Regions from separate parts of the Homo sapiens genome. Here all the other regions are linked to region 1. The links are contacts of gene promoters, found by promoter capture Hi-C in blood cells and fetal thymus (Javierre and others, 2016). All regions are on one chromosome and are shown on one strand. The core of a region is centred on a gene start or on the middle of the fragment in contact, and the rest is flanking DNA. Distances in the headings are between cores, read along the strand shown.

Region 1 (2,658 bases), core at 45-2,544:
ACTGGGTATTTGCAAAAATGAATTTTCTTGCTCTATCACCCAGGAACATTGTGTTTTGGGAGCTGGGTCTTTCCTCTTTAACATAATTCCATTCCCCATTTTGTAGCAAATCAGTCTGCTCCTCCTCTAATACCTAAAAGTCAACAAATACCTGCCTCAAGCCCCAGGTTTCCCATCTTCTCCCGAAGGTCTTCTAGCATCGGTTTGGTTAGCAATTTCCTGCCAGAGCCACCTACATCTTGATTATTTTGGTCAGTCTTTCGGGGATTTCATTTCAGACCCCCTTCGAGAAACACTGTAGCCCAACTGATCCCAGGGGTTGGTGAACTTTCAGTTTTATTTTCCCTGACGGTGTTAACGCCCAAACTTTTCACCTCCTAAGTCAAAAAGGACTTTGACTCTAGCTCATTTCCTACTACCTCCAACGTCAGTTAAAAAAAAAAAAAAAAAAGCAAAACACCACTCTACATTTAAAAGAATCATATATTTTTCCTTAAGGATACTTTTAATGTTTCTGACATTTAGCATTTGTTTTTTGCATAAAAAGTCGTTTTGGCATATCCATCCTAGTGGGACTTAACATTTCATGAAATGATTCACTACTAATAAACAAAAAAGGGAGGAGGGAGGCCTCATGGGTTAATAGTTTCTTTCATTGTAGATGACCAGGAACTTTGACCAGCCCCTTCACTTCCCCAAGCTCTCTGAAAGTGGAGGGTTGATCTTTCCTTTTGACCACTTTTGTCGCATCCCGTCTAAGGGTGGCTGATTTCACTGCTGAATTAACCACCAAGCACCCCCCCACCCCCTCCCCCAGCCACCACTTTCTCAAATACTACCCTTCCTTTTCCCCCTCCCTTAAGACTTATTTCTAATATTTCTAAAGTGCACTGTTTTGGGCCTCTCCCCATCCCCGCCCCCCAAGTGGGCTTTCCTTCCGCCTTCCTCGGCTCGGATTCCTGACTTGGTCGCCACCCCCTTCTCCTCCTCTCCCACCCCGCATTGTCTTTCTGAAACCGCCCCCTCCCGGAGCAAGTCCCTGCACCCTCGCCCAGAATCCCGGGCTCGCACACACTCCGCGCAGGCCGCTCCCCCTGCACACTCCTCCCTCCGTCTCCCCCCGGCTTCCCCGCCCCTCTCTTCCTCCTTCTTTCCCTCCTCCCTCTCCCGGCGCCCGAAAGGATCATTGTTAGCCGCCCCCGCCCCGCCCACCCCGGCTGTTTATTTATGCACACGTCACTGGGCCGGCCCCGCCCTCCGGCATCTCATTAAGGCAGTGTGTTCCTCTCGCCCTGTCAATAATCTCCGCTCCCAGACTACTCCGTTCCTCCGGATTTCGATCCCCCTTTTTCTATCTGTCAATCAGCGCCGCCTTTGAACTGAAAAGCTCTCAGTCTAACTTCAACTCACTCAAATCCGAGCGGCACGAGCACCTCCTGTATCTTCGGCTTCCCCCCCCCTTTGCTCTTTATATCTGACTTCTTGTTGTTGTTGGTGTTTTTTTTTTTTTTACCCCCCTTTTTTATTTATTATTTTTTTGCACATTGATCGGATCCTTGGGAACGAGAGAAAAAAGAAACCCAAACTCACGCGTGCAGAAGATCTCCCCCCCCTTCCCCTCCCCTCCTCCCTCTTTTCCCCTCCCCAGGAGAAAAAGACCCCCAAGCAGAAAAAAGTTCACCTTGGACTCGTCTTTTTCTTGCAATATTTTTTGGGGGGGCAAAACTTTTTGGGGGTGATTTTTTTTGGCTTTTCTTCCTCCTTCATTTTTCTTCCAAAATTGCTGCTGGTGGGTGAAAAAAAAATGCCGCAGCTGAACGGCGGTGGAGGGGATGACCTAGGCGCCAACGACGAACTGATTTCCTTCAAAGACGAGGGCGAACAGGAGGAGAAGAGCTCCGAAAACTCCTCGGCAGAGAGGGATTTAGCTGATGTCAAATCGTCTCTAGTCAATGAATCAGAAACGAATCAAAACAGCTCCTCCGATTCCGAGGTAGGAAAAGCCCCTCGGGCTGGTGGGGTTTTTTATCTGTTTCCTGGGCTTGGCAAATGTTGCTGAAAGGGGAGAAATCGGGGCTGGGGGCGGCGGCGGGGCCCGGCGGGCGGCGTGTGCGTACGGTGCCACCATTGCAAAAACTTGTAACCCTGTTTTTTTCTACCCCCCCCTCGACCTCGCCGATTCTTTTTCTCCCCCTTCTCCCCCTTCTGCGTGGCGTTTGCCCCTCGCCCTCCCCACCTCCACCCCTCTGGGAAGGCGGAAAGACGGCCTCCGCCTCGCTCCGAAAGTTTCCGAGACAAATCCCGGGAAAGTTTGGAAGAAGGTGAGTACGCCCCGCGCGCCCCGCAGCCGCCCGGAGCCGCCCCCCGGGCCGGCCGCCCCGCGCGCCCCGGCCCCGCGCCCGGCTCGGCCTGGCCCTGCGCCGGCCCGGTCGGGGCGCCCGGCCCCTCGGGGCACTTTCTAAAAAGTTTCTCCTCACTCTCTCCCGCTCCGCGCGGCCGCCGCTGTCCCCTCGCCGCCCCGCCATGTTAGCGGCCAAGAGGCAAGATGGAGGGCTCTTTAAGGGGCCACCGTATCCCGGCTACCCCTTCATCATGATCCCCGACCTGACGAGCCCCTACCTCCCCAACGGATCGCTCTCGCCCACCGCCCGAACCGTA
Region 2 (2,658 bases), core at 105-2,604, 410 kb after region 1:
CCAATGTCTTCACTGCTCCTATGGGAAGCCAGAGTTTTACTCTTTCCCCTGAATTTTCCCACAGTCATTCCATGAGCTAGTTATGGACACAACTTAAGGGGAACTGGAGATGTGTGTGTGTGTTCATTCCAAACAGTGTCACTGATTGACAGCATGGCTTTGGATAAGCTGATCAGGTTGCTTTGATGCAGATTCTCCACCCCCACCCCACACCTTTGTTGAAAAAGAACCAAAAAATAATACATACTGTATTAAATTATTAAAGGGGTTGTAAGTAAAACCTGAAGCCTGAACTCCTTCCTTCCCCAGTCCCATGTAAAGATTGAGAAGGAAGAAGATACTGGAGTCTGGGGTTCAGTGGTAGGACTCAAGTGCCAATGGAGGTGGTGCCAGGGGCAGCATCATAACTGGATTGTGCCCAAGGTCTGGTGTCAGCTATGTTCTTTGCCCTCTAACCTCCCTTGGTTCCAGCTCATTTTTCATCTCAGCTCTCCAGCATTTCTTCAGACTCTGTAAGCTGCCCACATCTTCCCTATATATTCCTTTTCTGCTTAACTGTCACTGTTACTTTGCTTGCAAACAAAAACCTAGACTGAGAAAAAAAAAATAAGATCTTCTCAGCACCTACTGTGAGCCAACTACTTTGCAGGTTGAGGAACTGAGACACGGAGAGTTAAGGTGACGTGCCTAGGTCACCAAACCTGTTAGAGGTGGTACTGTGATCTGAACCCCCATCTGTCTACATTTCCATTGGGTTTTCTCAGCAAAAAGATACTCTTGAAAAGTAAACCTCCAGTCCATAACCACCCACATCTGCATTGAACTTGCCTCATAGCTAGGGCCTTTGGAGGGTTATAGTTGCGACCCAGACACATTTTCTTCCCCCACTCCCGCCTTAACTTGGTGATTGGCTGTTGTAAATTGCATCGAAAGTGATACGCCTTTCAGTGCTGAGAACCATCATGGGTCTGTGCCTATGATGTAAGGGGGAAAGGGATCCAAACAGTCGAGCAACATGAGTTTGTGTCTTTTGTAACAACTGTGCATTGCTTGTGTGTGCTGCTAATTATTCCTGATTCACATGCCCTCAGTTGATGCTTTTGGAAATTAAATGGGCATGCCTTGTATGGTGTGGAGAGAGAGGCTTGCTCATTTTCTCTCCTTTCACACACTGCCCTTATGCCTGCTGTTGCTCCAACAAGTGGCATCATCCTTAGTTCCTGACATCCCAACATGGGCAGTCAGATGTTGCTGTCTGCTTTCAGAATTACAAACCCACCCACTTGTACTTCTTTGCAGGAGTGAGGTAGCTTGCCAAAGAACGGGAAGTCACCAGAGTGAACATCGTGGAGCCATTGACACCATGTTCTGTTTCTTAACCAAGGAGGAGGCTAGCCACTCTCTGGGCACCTAACTTGCAACAGCTCCCCTGGAGATAGACCCACATAAAACCATTTTATTCTTGACATCACTCCAGCATTTCTGCAGAGCATCAGTCTGGACAGAACTTGGTATTCTTGCTTCTTTTCCACTGACTTTTTAAGAAGCCAGTTATTGAAGATCCAGGGTAATAAAAGCAGCTTGAACTTCATTACCCTCTCTCCAGCATTAGATACTGAAGGCCACGGTGAGTGATACTGTGTATAAAATACGAAGCAGAGAATTAAATGCAACTTGATGGTACATGTTGTACCTTAATGAAAACAAAGGCTCAGGAACACTATTTGTGAACGTGTTACCCAATAAAGTGTTAGCAATGGAGCTCATAAAGCTGCCAGCCAGATTTAACCATTGTGTGGAGCTCTGTTCAGTTGGGCTGGGCAGAGAGAGTGAGGTCTGTTCCCTTTATCACAGTCACTGGAGGTTTTTATTTAAAACACATGGAAGAAAGACACTTGGGTTTGGCACCAAAATGTCTTGTGGTAAAGGAAAAAAAATTAGAAATATCCAAAAGTACTTAAAAAAAAACTAGGGGGAAAAAAAAACATATGTGAAGAAATTAAGATGGGCTGACATAGGGTGCCGCGTTAGCCGTTTAAAGTGATGGCGAAAGCAGAGAGCAACGGGCTTTCTCCACGGCAGCTGATAGACACGAGCAATTGAGCAGTTCATACCCTCTCTGTTGTCCCTGTCACAAGATTTGTAGGTCATTCTCAGCCAGCCATGGGGGCTAAAGGGCACAGGTTGCGACCTGCTGATTTACCAAAGTATGATCAACTCACACAAATTATAGGCGTAAGAGAGGCCTGACAACTTCAATATGATGCGCAATGAGCACAATTATTTGTGACATGTGAAACCAGTGTGAGACCGTAATTCTGTCACTGCATGACAAGGCATTATTAGCCGGGGCAGGCAGCGGCTTGAACCAGGAGCAGCTGGAGGAGAGGCAGGGAAAGAGAGAGGGCTCCATAGGGGAAGGCCCGTGACGGGCTTTCTCTCCCAGAGTGGCAAATAGCAATGGCCCCTTTGTGGAATGTGGAGCCGCTCAGGAGGATGAAGTCGCCCTATTGCTATCTGGTCTGTTGGATAATAAAGGAGCGTTTGGTGGGAAGGGCAGAGGGGAAAGCACACCCTGTGGGCCTGGGGCTGTGCACAACCAAGGTGTCTTCGTTGAAATCGGGCGTGGTATTTTTCATGAGGCCAACTGAGGTGTTG
Region 3 (2,658 bases), core at 81-2,580, 400 kb before region 1:
TAATTATTTAATATATTATGGAGGTTTTTAATGCTTTAAATCATAAATGTTGGTAATTGTTAATGTATTATGTGCTAAAAATAACAATGGTAACACAGGCGATAACATTGTATATTCTGCTTTAAAATTTTCAGACTACTTTTACATCTGTTAACTCATCGTATCAATCAATAAATTACCTTATCTGAAATGGAAATTTGTTCAAGCTGAGTAACACTGATCCCCTGAATATTTCCCCAAATGCCATCTACTTTCACCATCCAGAATATGTATTAAGTTTTATTTGGTTTCATGAAGAAATAAGTACTTTTAGTTTCCCTCTTTCTCATTAGCATATCTTTGAATTATCTATGTAATGTTCAATACTCTGTGCAGATCTGTTGATGATTAGGACCTGTTCATTTGAAACCAACAAACCAACCAACCAACAAACAAAATCTGTCCTAAGAAGGCTACACAAATTTAAGAGATGCACGAGTTTTTCTCACTAGTGTTAGCATAAGACTTTTACAGACATCCAAATTTTTCATGTAGGTGAGTCAAAGGGATTGACTGGAGTGACTTTGTTACTGTAAAAAGAGACCTTTTAAAAAAAAAAAAACCATTGACTCTAAAAGGTAAGCATGAAGATGGACCAAGTATCTTATTGCCTCACTGATACTGCCTGCCAGCTGTGAATTTTCTTACTACAATGAATCCCCTCATTTTTATTGCTGTGTGCAAGGTACAGTGTTTCATTTTTCTTCCTACTTGGGCTTCCTGTAGAATGCACACCCCATATAGTTCTTTAAATTCATACTGTTGTGAGAACAAGTACGTCTTTCTCTTCTCTCTTTTGTTAACTGTAAACCTTGTGGAGCAACAGTTCTTTCGTGCCCTCTGTAAGTTGCTGGCCTCTGCTCAAATTAAACACTGTAAGATTATCAGCAGGTTACAAAGGTGTAGTGTATCTCTCTCTTCTGCATTTTTGTATAAGGTTGTCTTGATCTGAAAAATGCTAACAAATTCAAATGAACTAATCGTCTCACATCCACCCCTTGTAAATTGGGACTTTGTGTCTTCTACATAAAAAGTAGGGAGAACACACGTGCAATTTCTGTTCTCCTTTGAGGATTTAAAAAAAGTTACTCATATAAAATGCACAGAAATTATTTTTTCATCCAAGTGCCAAGTCAGGTCACCTCTCTTTCACCTGCAGTGAAGCAAAATGGAATGTGCCTGGAGCTTTGCTACGAGACAGACTCAGGTTCAAATCTTGGTCCTGCCACTTAATAACTGTAAGACCTTAGACAAGTTCCTTAGCCTTTCTGAGTCTTAGTTTTCAAATGTATAAAAATCCTTGCAGATCTTCTATATGGAGGTTGTCCTGAGAGATAAATGTGATAAACTATATAAAACATCCAACACAGTGGTGATCCATAAATGTTAGTTTCCATTTGTACTAATTTGCATAGTAACGCTAGCTGCTGTAACAAATAAACCCCAGTCGCCCCAGTGGCTTGATTCAGTGACGTTTATTTCTCACTCTTGAAACTGTGTAATGCAAGTGTCCAAGTGGGCAGACAGCCCTTTCAGGTAGTTATTCAGAAATCTAGGCTTCAGCTGTCTTTTGGCTCTGCCCTGCCCTGGGGCTTTGGTGTCCTTTACCTTTAGCCAGCAGCTAGGCAAAGAAAGTGGAGAAGGTATACCCACTTTTGAAGCTCCGCATTAATTCTACCTGTGTTCCACTGTCAAGAACAGTTGAATGGTGCTACTTAGATGCAGGGGGACTGGGAAGTACAGTTCCAACTGAATGACCACTTTCTAATACAACTTTATACTAAGAAAGAGGGAGAACAATATAGGTGGGTTGGAGGGCAGTTTATCTATCTCTGCAAAGTATTTATTTCTTGCCTACTTCACTGCCTCATACATCATCAGTTAAGACCCTAGCTATTAACAGTACAATGGGCAGAAGTGAAAGGATAGATGACTTACAGGCCAGGTCAGTGGTTGTGATCTTCTAGTTTTTGTGGCAAATGAGACTTTATTTCTCTCTTTTCCATATTAATAGATACATTAAGGAGTCCGATATCATCTGCTTTCTTTTCTACTAGACATTTATCTTTATTCACTTTTCAAATTTATATTCCTTAGGTCTGTAACAAAAAATAATTCTGCTGTGTGTGTTTTTATCTAAGTGGTGACAATAGTTGTAAGTCTGCAAATGTATATATGTCATTTCTAAAGCATATGCTAAAAGTACACTTACACTGCAGACTGTCACAGCCCAGAGGAACTTAAGGAAACTTAACATAATGCAAGTTCTGGATGGAATCCTGGAACAGAAAAAGGACATTGTGCAAAAACCAAGGACATATGAATAAAGTTATTGATTTTAGTTAATAATAATGTATCAATATTGGTTTGTTAATTGTGACACATGTACCATAATAATGTAAGTGATAATGGGGGAAACTGGATGTAGAGTAAATGGAAACTCTGTGCCATGAGCATAATTTTTTTGTAAATCTAAAGCTATTCTGAAATTAAAAGTTTATTTCAACAAAAGGACATTGCAATCACAGTAGTCTTCATATTTATTGAGTACCCATCATGTAATATCATCATTGTTGCAAACCTGACTTCTCTTTTTTAATTTTTTATTAAAATTATAGA
Region 4 (2,658 bases), core at 41-2,540, 380 kb before region 1:
GGTGAAACTCAGCTGGGCGCGGTGGCTAATGCCTATGATCCCAACACTTTGGGGGGCATATGTGGGCGGATCACCTGAGGTCGGGAGTTTGAGACCAGCCTGGCCAACAAGGTGAAACCCTGTCTCTGCTAAAAATACAAAAATCATCCGGGTGTGGTGGTTTGCACCTATGGTCCCAGCTACTTGGGAGGCTGAGCCAGGAGAATCATTTGAACCCAGGAGGCGGAGGTTGCAGTGGGCTGAGATCGTGCCACTGCCCTGCAGCGTGGGCACAGAGCAAGATTCCATCTCAAAAAAAAAAAAGCTATGGGAAAAAAGGTGAAACTCAAGTAGGTTAATTGTGTGCCTTCTAGAAACCCTAATGATAAATTTGCTGAGAAGGCGGACAACTGTTTGTTGCCTTCTGTGATCCAGGCATACACTTCATTTGATCTTCATAATTATCTTACGGGGTAAGTACTGTTTTTCCCATTTTGCAAATAAGTATACTGAGGTCCAGAGAGGTTAAGGAATCAGTCCAATTGAAGGGCAGTATAAAGTCAAATCCTTTACTTTTTTTCATTATCACATGCTAAAGATAAAGTGTTTAATTATGCCAATTGACTTCTAGTCTAGAAAACAGAACTGAAAGTTGAATTGGAACATCTCTTAAGTTTATACTCTGAAGACAGAGGTTGGCTTTTGCCCTCAACATGGAGCCAACTGCCAAAGCAGTGCCATCTGTAATGATGTTGGCAGATAACTGTACATTAGTGAGGACTGACAAGCGAAGAGGGTATCCTGGGAAAACTTTGGAAGGTGGTGATATGGTGCTGTGAAGAGCATGCCTCTGAAAGTGGGTAAAAACTTGCATCAGTAGTGCCTGGGTGCCTACTAAAAAAAACACAGCTTCCTGGGTGCCAATGATAATCGACCAGATCAGAATCTCTGGAGGTATGGCCCAGGCAACTTCCTTCCTAAGAAGTAACTTCAGGTACTTGAGAAGCATATTAACTTCTGAGGGTTATTGCTTTCATGTATGAAGCTAATAGGAACCTAGAAGAACCTGTGCTTTGAAACTTTACATGCCTATCTGCAAAGTCTGTTTTTCTCTAGAGAAATGTCTTTTCTATGCAAAGTGTGCATTCAGTACCACCAATTCCCTGCATTTTGGTGCTCAGACCCTCAAAGACATAATTAAGGGGATTTCTTCTTTAAAAGCCTACTGTGTGGCATCTCATACAATTATATGGCCCTTGCTTTTTGTTGGTCTTTTTTCAAATATAACATGCAGTGTTGCCAGGAACACCATCATATTAAAATATAAAATTACCTTTTGTGAAAAATGGAGTCAGGGCATACATCTGGGAATCCAACAAACTCTAAACTGGCTGTGTACAAAATTTTTTTTTTTAAGTTTGGAAACTGATAGCTGCCTGAAGGTTGCATATTTAAAGTCATTTTCCCTGCTTCCTTCATTTTCCCCCTGTGGCAAAGCAAAGCAGCACTTCTTATGGGGAAAAAAAAATTGAAAGAAAGAAAAGAAAACCTAATATTGGCATTCTAGTAGTAAAATAATGGTAAAGATTGAGCCTGGATTTTGTAATACTTTGGATATTGGAATATCCTAATTTCCAGTTGGAAAAATTAGTATCAAATGTATTTTAGATGAAAAGTTCAGTGAATGCTGACCCATATTTTGAGATATAAACAAAAAACAATTAAAAGATAGCTATTTTAATGAAGGAAAATATAATATTTAAATAAAGTGTTTAGACTTCAAAGTAGAGTGTTGCTCACGTAATAGCCAGAATACCTCTGTGCATACATCTCGGAAGAGGCTAAAATGCCAGATGTATTTTTGTGCTAATTTTCTCACCAGCTTCTGGAGCCAGTAGAGGAATTCAGCACATAATATCTCATAGAAGGTATCCCTCTCAGCATTTTCCCACGTTCCTCCTTCTGATTCATTGCTGAAAGCAGAGATAAGAGAGTTAACAAATAACTAGACTAATAATAACCATAATAACAAACATTTATTGAGTGGTTACTGTGTGCCTGGCACCATGTTAAAGAGTTTACATAGATTATTTCATTTAATAACCATGTAAGTCCTATCATCCCCACTTTACAAATGAGGAAATCAGCAACCATTTCAGCTAATATTTATTGAGCATCTTCTATGTGTTGCATACTGTACTGTGCTGTTCCCTGTGTTATCTTTATCTTCAAAACATTCCATTTTATGGTTTATGGGTATTTATCTTTATTTTACATGTGAAGAAATTGAAACTGAGTGATTAAATGACTTATTCAAAATGCCATACTGCTAGATATTAGAGATTCCAGACTTCTTAGTTCCCCATTTTACTTTGTCCTAAGATGATTTAAAATATCTTCCCATCTTGTCTATTCCTTCCAAGTTTATACTCCAAAGAAAAGACTAGTAATATCTCATGTATCCAGTGATTCATCTTAAGGAAACTCGTTCCTCTATAGGAGACAACACTAGCCTTGGAAAGCCATCTTGGGATGCCTTAAAAGAAAAAACTCACAACAAAACATGCATTATAAGATAGCAGTTGACACAATGAGATGCCATCTCATGCCAGTCAGGATGACTTTTGTTAAAAAGTCAAAAAATAACAGATATTGGCGATGCTATGGAGAAAAGGGACA
Region 5 (2,658 bases), core at 71-2,570, 370 kb after region 1:
TTCTGAAAGTCATTTCATTTTGATTAAGTTATATGCTTCACATTTAAAGGTTACAAGTTCCTATGTCCTGTAGCCTGTTTTGCTTCTGATCTTGAAACAGTTTGTAAAGGGAAGTTACTCTCCTTGGCTTTGAAAGTGAAGCTCTCCAGATAAGTGCATTTATCCTACTCTCACTGAAGGTGAGAGACCTCCCAAAGTCATTTATGGCAGTACTGGCCCCTTCTGTTCAGCCCCAAGTTAGTCCTATGAGGTTTGTGCCTCCCCTTGCCTTCTGAACTTGGGTCTGTTTCCCATGAGCAGCTCTTGGGTTCTCTCAAGTCAGCACTGGTGCTTGGCCTCCCTGTCTCCACTCATGGCTCCTCCTTCAGGGCTTGGATTGGAGTGATCCTGGTTCTGCCATGGTCAGTCTCAGAATGGGAATTCTCAGCCCTGCATTGGGATGCCACCCTCTGAGTCATCGAGGGCAAAGGCACTGAGCCAAATGGAAAATAAGATGTCAGAAATCCATACTGATCCTGGGAGTAACTCTAGGAAGAGAGTTGTGGTGGACGCCTTCTCACAGTGGCTCTGAATGCTCCCGTTTCCACTGTGTATCTGTAGCAATCATAACCAAGCACTGGTTATTTGCAGCTCACAGATTGCAAGGGTTACCATGGTTCTGATAACAGGCCTGCCCTTGCTCCAGTTGAGTTGAGTGCATGTGTGATCAGAAGCTGTTTGTGCCCTAGAATTCATTACCATGTTTGCACTGAAGCCAGGCCCACCGTTGGCTGCTCTTAGCCAATGAGACACAACAGGGATGCTAAGGCCAGTGTGCTCGTGGGGAATGCAGGACTTCTCTGATGGGTAATTTTGGCTGGAGGACTCCCCAGTGGCCTTGCCAAACTTTCCTTAAGCTACAAAGCAATCCAGGATGCTACTGCCCAAACTTCGTTCAGCTGGAACACCTACATGTGGCCTCTCCAAGTGGCCCGGGCTTCCATACAGCATAGTAGGCTCCCACAATAAACATCTTGAGAGAGAACCAGGCAGACACTGTATCCGCTGATATGACCTAGTCTTGGAAGCCACACAGCATCACTCCACACATACTATTCATTGCAAGCAAGTCACTAGAGCCTGCCCATATTCAGGGGGAGGAGAACTAGACTCTACTTCCTCATGGGGGATGTCTCCAAGAATGTGTGGACATGTTTGAACTCACACAGGGAGTGTCGTTTGCGTTTTTCAGAAGTCTTCTGGTTCAAACTTGTGGGGTGGGGATGGGCTTTCTTAGGTTCAATATTCGTATGCGGAGATTCTTTTATAAGGGGTGTGGAGGTACAATGAAATCTGAGTAGCTTCGAGGTCGTCACAGATTGTCTTGTTACTAGCTTGCTTGTCTCTTGCATGCTGTTAACGGGTTAGTTTTCCTGACACTCAGAACAACAGCCACACGGTTAGTTGGTGGAAGACGTAGGACTTGAACAATTGTCCCCTCACTCTCATTCTGGGTCTCTTTCCATAGCACTGGGATGAACTGAATTCTATGCTTCTCCCATCATTTCAGCTTTCCAGAAAACCCGACTAATGAGAAAACCAGGGACCAGATGCCTGCCTGCTCTAGGCATTGAGACTGATCATGTCAAATGCCACTGAATTTTCCTCTTCACTGTTAAACCTGGAAGTTTCTTACTGCCAACCATGTATGTATGTATTTAAAAAAACTCACAGCTGGTCCTTTGTTGCTGTCTGTTTTCATTGTGCCTTTCTTCTCCTCCAAGTCGCACATGAAGATGTTTTTCAAAAAAGCAAGTTAAGAAAGTGAAATTAAATCACTGACATCTGCCACTCAATCTCACTCAACGGCCTTGTTCCCTGCATTCTTGTGGGCAGAATTTAGGACTTTGTTATTATTAGTTCTTACTATTTCTCCTTTTGGGAGGATGGGCGGGAGGCCAGTAACGAAAAGGAATATAGACAACTCAGTGATTCCGGTACAAGTTTCACTTCCTGAGAGTGGTGGTAACTATTTTGATTTTTTACTTGGTGAAATAAAAACAAGGGAATTACTAAAGCGAAACACATTGATGAAATAAAGACTCTGTATTACTTTATAAAAGTAAAGGAAAACTCTGAGGACAGAATTCTTTATCAATAAAATGAAACAGAGTTAACAGTTATATTTTTACACCTTCTCTTAAAAGACAACATCTTGACAAACCGGGTGTGAAATAACATTTAATTTCACAACCGGGGGCACTTGAATTCCATTTTTGTGGCAGTGCTATTGTTAGACAATCAAAGGCCGAGTCTTGGAACATGTGTGGATGTCATTCCAGGGTAAGAGAAGAGAAAATTGTTATTGTTTTTTAGTTAAGAAAATAACTTACATTATGTAAATTATGCTAAGTAGGCAACTTACACTAAGTAGGCAACAACTGCTACACACAAGCTAATAGCACATCTCCGGAAAAGCTGGTGATTAGGATTTGGGAGGCTTATACTGTTTTCAGTATGGATACCAGGCTGGTGCTGAGCTATCTGTTGTCTGGGATACGTATTCCTTTTCACCATTAGAATTTTCGTATGCTATTGCGTATGTGGTTGCATCTGTACAAGGAAGGTCACTACCGTTCTTTCACTGGGTTCTCGGAGTCGTCCTGTGATATTCTAGAT
Region 6 (2,658 bases), core at 66-2,565, 350 kb before region 1:
AAAACTGGTTGGCATATCTGCTATGCCTAAACAATTTTGCTAATATTAAGAAGGTTCTCGGCTAAAATTCTGACTCATCAATTATTTACTTTTTTTTTTTTTAATTTAAATGACTATTTCTATGGGGAATCTTTTGTAAATGTGTCTGGTCTAATTAATTTGGTGCCAACCAGGCACCAATGCCTTGTCGACTCTCTTTATTTACTGTGGTATGCAGTCACTTTTCTTAGTTGTTCCGTGCCTCATCCTAGGAAGTAGGTTTGTCCTGTTTGCTTTCATAAGCATGACTGGCCAGTAAAACCCTTGACCTTTAAATTAATGGGTAATACGAATTCATCTCATTCCATCATGAAACAAAGATTCTCTGTATCAGATATTACTATTTATTAGTAAGACAAGGGGATGGGGGATGCCATGTGCTCTGAGGTATCACTATTAGTTAATGAGAATGGTCCACATTTTATCCTTCTTAGGAGTAATTTTTCTGAAGGGCATTGGGAAATTAAATAAACACATCTGAAATTGGATTTAGATTTTGATAGAGCAGAATGATTACAACTAGGGTCCCTTAGTAGCCTGGGGTTATTCAAATACAGATAAAGACAATACATTTCCATAAATTCTGAAGAAAACATGTGGCTGGAGTATGAGCCATATTTTTCTGAGTGCTGGGGTTGATGGCCATTAAAAATGAGAAGAACTGAAACATGCAGGCATTAGTTCCTCACATGACAGTTGCTCTAAATCACCATTTATAGAATGCACTTTTTAATGTGAGCATTTCTAAAGTTAACATGAGCAATAGAAATGTCAAAAGTGAAAATTAAATCATTAATTCTAACATATTCCTTTCCTAATTAAGAATAATTACAGCAGGGGCTAGATTTTATTCACCCTTTGACCTCAACCTTGCTTGCTCAGTGCCTGGGACTTACTGTTTATTGAGCGAATGAAAAAATTTTTTTTATCAAATCTTTTGCTTAGGCAGGTCCACAAATGGCAGGGGGCATACCCGGGATATTGCTGAAAATGAGCAATTGATATGCAAGAGTTAGACAAAATTCAGCTGAAGCAGTCCAGGGCTTAAATAATACTAGCTCAGAAAATTAAGATAGAGACTTATCAAAGCTTTCTTTCAGACTGATCCTTAAATGTTTTGAAATGTTTATCTAAACCTCTTAAACTCTAAAATAGTTTTGATGCCTTTTGATAGCAAATTCTGAAATGCCTCAATTAATGTGAAGCCACAATTGATTATGTTTTTAATATACAAATATTGGTGCTAATGGATTTATAAGACATTGTGATGGACTTAGAATTGTAAGTCTTTACTATCAGGCAGCCTTTAGGAAGCAGCTACTAACATGTTTATAAAGGATGCATACACTGGGAAATTGTGGTCAAAATGTCAAACAGTAAAACAGCAGAGTTCAAGCTGGTTCACATCAATATTTATTTTAATTTTGTAAACACTTATTTGGGTGATTTTTTTTATGAAAGCCTAAGCTTTAGAGAAACACCTTTATAGATCAATTTTTTAAAAGCATTTGGTCACATAGAACTACTTGAAACTATTGTCCAAATAGCCTGCTAAAGCAGATGTGCTGCTTAATTTTTTTTAAACCCAGTGCATGATTGAAACATTTTCTGTGTCACCTAGTTATCTGTGGTCAGAAGTGTTTGTTGTTAATAATACTTTATTTTGAATTCATAAATGATTTGTGGAGATTCATGGAGTGGGTTCTTTTCAGGCTTCTAGTAATTCATTGTATCGTTTGCCTAAATTGTATTACCATGCTGGCTGTATAACTGAGCCATATCGGGGGAACTGACTTGTTGAAGCTGGTTTGGGCCATGTGGCATTGAAATTGCAAGCATGAGTATAACAAGCTAAACCCAAATGAAGTTGGACATTGCTAACTGGGAGCTTGTTGACAATGTGTTGAGATAAGAGCCTGTTCCCTTCAAGAAAGACTTGTCCCATAGAAGTCTTTTGATCCTGAGGGTGTGGGGCTGCCCTTGACCATTGATATATAGCAGAGGTAGGAAGGGTTTTGTTTAGTTTTTCAATAACATTCATTGCCTTTTTTTTCCTGAGTAGAAAAGTCATTATTTAATTTAATTTTGTTTTATGTTTTGTTTGTTTGGTTTTTAACCATTTCAGTAGTAATAGTAATAGTGATTTCCTTAGTTGTCATGATTTTTCCCAGTAGGTTTTTTTCCCTCATAGGAACTAAATACTGTTTTACTTCAAACTGAGTGCTTCACACTTTGGATCTCAAAATATATCCTAGGAATTTCCAAAATTTCTTCCCCTTGTATGGTATGCTCACAGATTTCTTAGATAGTCAAAAGGGGCATTACATCCCAAGACCAGCTCAATGAATGACAAGAAAGAATAGCTTTCCATCATCCACCTTAGCAACCCACTCCCTCCCAATGCCTTCCCCATCCCCCACCCCACCCAAGCGTACAAGGCCTGGCTGTGTGCCTGGTTACCTGTAAAGGAGAAGAGCAGTTACTCTTGGTAGATGACAACACCCAGTAACAATAACAAAACCTTCATGAGCTCATCCCCCTTAGAAAGCAATTTAGTTAAGCCCACCTGGCTCACTGTTTCCCCCTGAGCATTTTCCTGTGTCCAGTGTGCTGTCTTTT
Region 7 (2,658 bases), core at 48-2,547, 320 kb after region 1:
GATGCTGGGAGAAAAAAACTGGCCTGCCTTCTGGTGAGAGAGTTAAGCTTTGAAGCTGTAGTTTTGGAGTTTCTGGTGGTGAGCTTTCTCACTTCATGGAGAAGGCCTGTCCACTGCAGGAAAGAATAAGATCATCATTCAGAGTAGCCGAGCTGAGAGATAAAGAGCCTGATGACATCATTTCAATCCCTGGATCCAATCATGATAGAGGCTAGATGTGTCCCTACTTTCCCAGTTAAATGAAACCCAAAAGTCTTTCTGTTTGTATAAGCATATTTGAGCTGGGTTTCTGTCACCTGAACCTAGACAGTCTGGAGGAGGACAGTGTGGAGGCAGGGTCAGGGGAAGGCAGGATTGAGCAGGAGAGAAGTCAAAGGGAAGGAAGCATGAGTAGTAGCCTTCTGTAGGAAGCTGGGAGCTCACTCTGGTTTTCTGAGGCTTCATGAAGCCTGAGCTCTGAGAAAGGACGCTCACTGTAGAAAGACACCTCTGCTTTTGTTGAGGAATCAGTCCCTGGCTCCTGGAATGTGGATATCTACATATATTCAGGTTCTGTACCTCCGTCCCCTGCCAGGCCACTCCTTGGCCAACCAAAAAAACCCATGAGGAATGTCATTAGTTAAGATGCTGAGGTTAGGCAGGTGAGCTTGAGAGTCAGACAGACTTTGATTTCTAACCTCAGTCCTTACCAGCAGAATGGCCTTGGACAGATGACTTAAGCTCTCTACCACAGTTTCCTTGTCTCTCAAAAGAGGCTGATAGTTAGAGCCATCTCAAAGGATTGTTGTGAGAATCCAGTCAGCCAATGGATGCCCAGAGCTTTGCACCATGGGAAACACCCAATGGTAATGGCTATTCAATTCCCATGAATGGGGGAATGTATGAGGTGGATTATGAGACCCCCAGCAATTCAGTGCATGAAGGCGATAATATGGAAGAACCCCATTAGTATACTGTTAAGATTTTTTTGAGTGATAAAATTTTCGAAAAAAGTTTACTTAATTTTTTTTTTTAAAAAAGGAAGTTGGAAGGCATATACTCCAAATAATGGAAATCAGGGACAAAAAGAGATACTTATATGCCCACATTCATAACAGCTTCATTCACAATAGCTAAAAGGTAGGAGCAACCCATGTGTTCATCAGTAGATGAGTGGATAGGTGACATGTGGCCTATAAAATAAATAATGTTCAGCCTTAAAAAGGAAGGAAATTCTGACACATGCTACCACCTGGGTGAACCCTGAAGACGTTATGCCAAGTGAAATAAGCCAGTCACAAAAGGACACATATTATGTGATTTCACAGAAAGCAGAATGATGGTTTCCAGTGGCTGAGGGGAAGGGAGAAGGGGGAGTTATCATTTAATGGCTATAGAGTTCCAGTTTAGAAGGTTAAAATGAGTTCTGTGGATGGATGATGGTGATGGCTGCATAAGTGTGAGGGACTGTACTTAATGCCATGGAACTGTATCCTAAAAAATGGTTAAGATGGTATTTTACTATAATTTAAAAAATAAAAGAAGACATTAGAGCCATATGCATAGTCAGAATGCATTTTTATTTTAATGAAAGTATTAGGTTGGTGCAAAAGTAATTGCAGTTTTTGCCATTACGTTCAAATACATACATTTTGTATAAGTATGGTGGGCAGAGGAAAGAAGGAGGAATGGACTGCATGCCAAATTGTTTACACTGCCTCTATGTGGGATTGGGGGACTGGAGGGAGAGGTGTCACTTTAGATACCTTAGTATTGTCTACAAATTATTACAATGATCAAATATTCTTGCCATTTCAATGACTAATATTAGATTATAATCATTTGCATCGAACTTTTACACTTCGAAAGTGCCTTTGTGGCGTATAAAATGGTGCGGCCATTTGGAAAACAGCTTGGCAGTTCTTCAAATGGTTGAACATAGGCTTCACATACAATCCAGCAGTTTCTCTCCTAGATATACACTGAAGAAAGCTGAAAACATCTGTCTACACACAAATGTGCACATGAATGTTCATAATAGCATTATTCATAATAACCAAAAGTGCAAAGAGCTCAAATGTCCATCAACTGAATGACAAATGAACGGATAAACAAAATGTGGCATGTCCATATGATGGAATATTATTCAGCACTAAAAAGGGATGATACACTGACATGCTACAACATGGATGAAACTTGAAAACAATGTGCCAAGTGAGAGAGGCCAGACACAAAAAGACCACATATTGTAGGATTTCGTTTATAAGAAATGTCCAGACGAGGCAAATCTATGGAGATAGAAATTAGATTAGGGGTTGCCAGCGGTTGGGGAAACTGGAGGACAGAAAAAGCCAATGGGTGTGAATTTTTTTTAATTGCAGTAATGACAATGTCCTAAAATTGATGGAGGTGATGGAAGCATAACTCTGTGATTCTACCAAAGCTATTGAATTGTACACTTTCAATGGGTGAATTGTACAGTATGTGAATTATATCTCAACAAAGCAGTTATAAAAACAAAACAAAATCACAAAATCTCTTTATAAGTCATACAATTGGTTACTTATACCAAGCTTAGGAGGCCAAAATTAAATGAAGAAATACACCTAAAGAGGCTTCAGATCTCTGGAGAAGGTTAAGTATGACAAAGCCTTGGCCTGGACTGGCATACTTTTTCAT

What was found. The method cuts DNA at HindIII sites, captures the fragments that hold promoters and counts their contacts. A CHiCAGO score of 5 or more calls a contact.
Region 2: a fragment that was not itself captured here is called in contact with the fragment with the promoter of TCF7L2 in region 1 in 1 of 17 cell types (M2 macrophages); the score reaches 5.0 in M2 macrophages.
Region 3: a contact is called between a fragment that was not itself captured here and the fragment with the promoter of TCF7L2 in region 1, in 3 of 17 cell types (megakaryocytes, M1 macrophages and endothelial precursors). The highest score is 6.0, in megakaryocytes.
Region 4: a contact is called between a fragment that was not itself captured here and the fragment with the promoter of TCF7L2 in region 1, in 7 of 17 cell types (M1 macrophages, endothelial precursors, M2 macrophages and 4 more). The highest score is 9.2, in M1 macrophages.
Region 5: a fragment that was not itself captured here is called in contact with the fragment with the promoter of TCF7L2 in region 1 in 1 of 17 cell types (M1 macrophages); the score reaches 5.5 in M1 macrophages.
Region 6: a fragment that was not itself captured here is called in contact with the fragment with the promoter of TCF7L2 in region 1 in 1 of 17 cell types (M2 macrophages); the score reaches 5.2 in M2 macrophages.
Region 7: a contact is called between a fragment that was not itself captured here and the fragment with the promoter of TCF7L2 in region 1, in 1 of 17 cell types (monocytes). The highest score is 5.5, in monocytes.

The regions. Positions count from the first base shown.
Region 1 is chr10:112,948,953-112,951,610 of GRCh38, forward strand. TCF7L2 (transcription factor 7 like 2) reads left to right here and starts at 1,295. Exons shown (of 15, transcript NM_001367943.1): 1 at 1,295-1,993; 2 at 2,255-2,321; 3 at 2,531-2,655. The coding sequence starts at 1,805. LOC124902502 (a long non-coding RNA gene) reads right to left here. Exons shown (of 2, transcript XR_007062291.1): 2 at 1,677-2,055. The HindIII fragment of the contact is 8,187 bases long and covers 1-2,658 here.
Region 2 is chr10:113,355,722-113,358,379 of GRCh38, forward strand. No RefSeq gene overlaps it. Among named protein-coding and RNA genes, the nearest start is that of HABP2, 200 kb to the right of the region's middle. The HindIII fragment of the contact is 3,371 bases long and covers 1-2,658 here.
Region 3 is chr10:112,552,021-112,554,678 of GRCh38, forward strand. All of the region lies in intron 5 of VTI1A (vesicle transport through interaction with t-SNAREs 1A), which reads left to right. Among named protein-coding and RNA genes, the nearest start is that of MIR4295, 81 kb to the right of the region's middle. The HindIII fragment of the contact is 5,640 bases long and covers 1-2,658 here.
Region 4 is chr10:112,568,863-112,571,520 of GRCh38, forward strand. The region is part of intron 5 of VTI1A (vesicle transport through interaction with t-SNAREs 1A); the gene reads left to right. Among named protein-coding and RNA genes, the nearest start is that of MIR4295, 64 kb to the right of the region's middle. The HindIII fragment of the contact is 4,295 bases long and covers 1-2,658 here.
Region 5 is chr10:113,319,255-113,321,912 of GRCh38, forward strand. LOC105378490 (a long non-coding RNA gene) reads left to right here. Exons shown (of 2, transcript XR_946329.2): 2 at 1,550-1,717. Among named protein-coding and RNA genes, the nearest start is that of HABP2, 230 kb to the right of the region's middle. The HindIII fragment of the contact is 4,155 bases long and covers 1-2,658 here.
Region 6 is chr10:112,601,338-112,603,995 of GRCh38, forward strand. The region is part of intron 5 of VTI1A (vesicle transport through interaction with t-SNAREs 1A); the gene reads left to right. LOC124902503 (a long non-coding RNA gene) reads left to right here. Exons shown (of 2, transcript XR_007062292.1): 1 at 1-2,658. Among named protein-coding and RNA genes, the nearest start is that of MIR4295, 32 kb to the right of the region's middle. The HindIII fragment of the contact is 378 bases long and covers 1,127-1,504 here.
Region 7 is chr10:113,269,006-113,271,663 of GRCh38, forward strand. No RefSeq gene overlaps it. Among named protein-coding and RNA genes, the nearest start is that of SNORA87, 220 kb to the left of the region's middle. The HindIII fragment of the contact is 2,505 bases long and covers 46-2,550 here.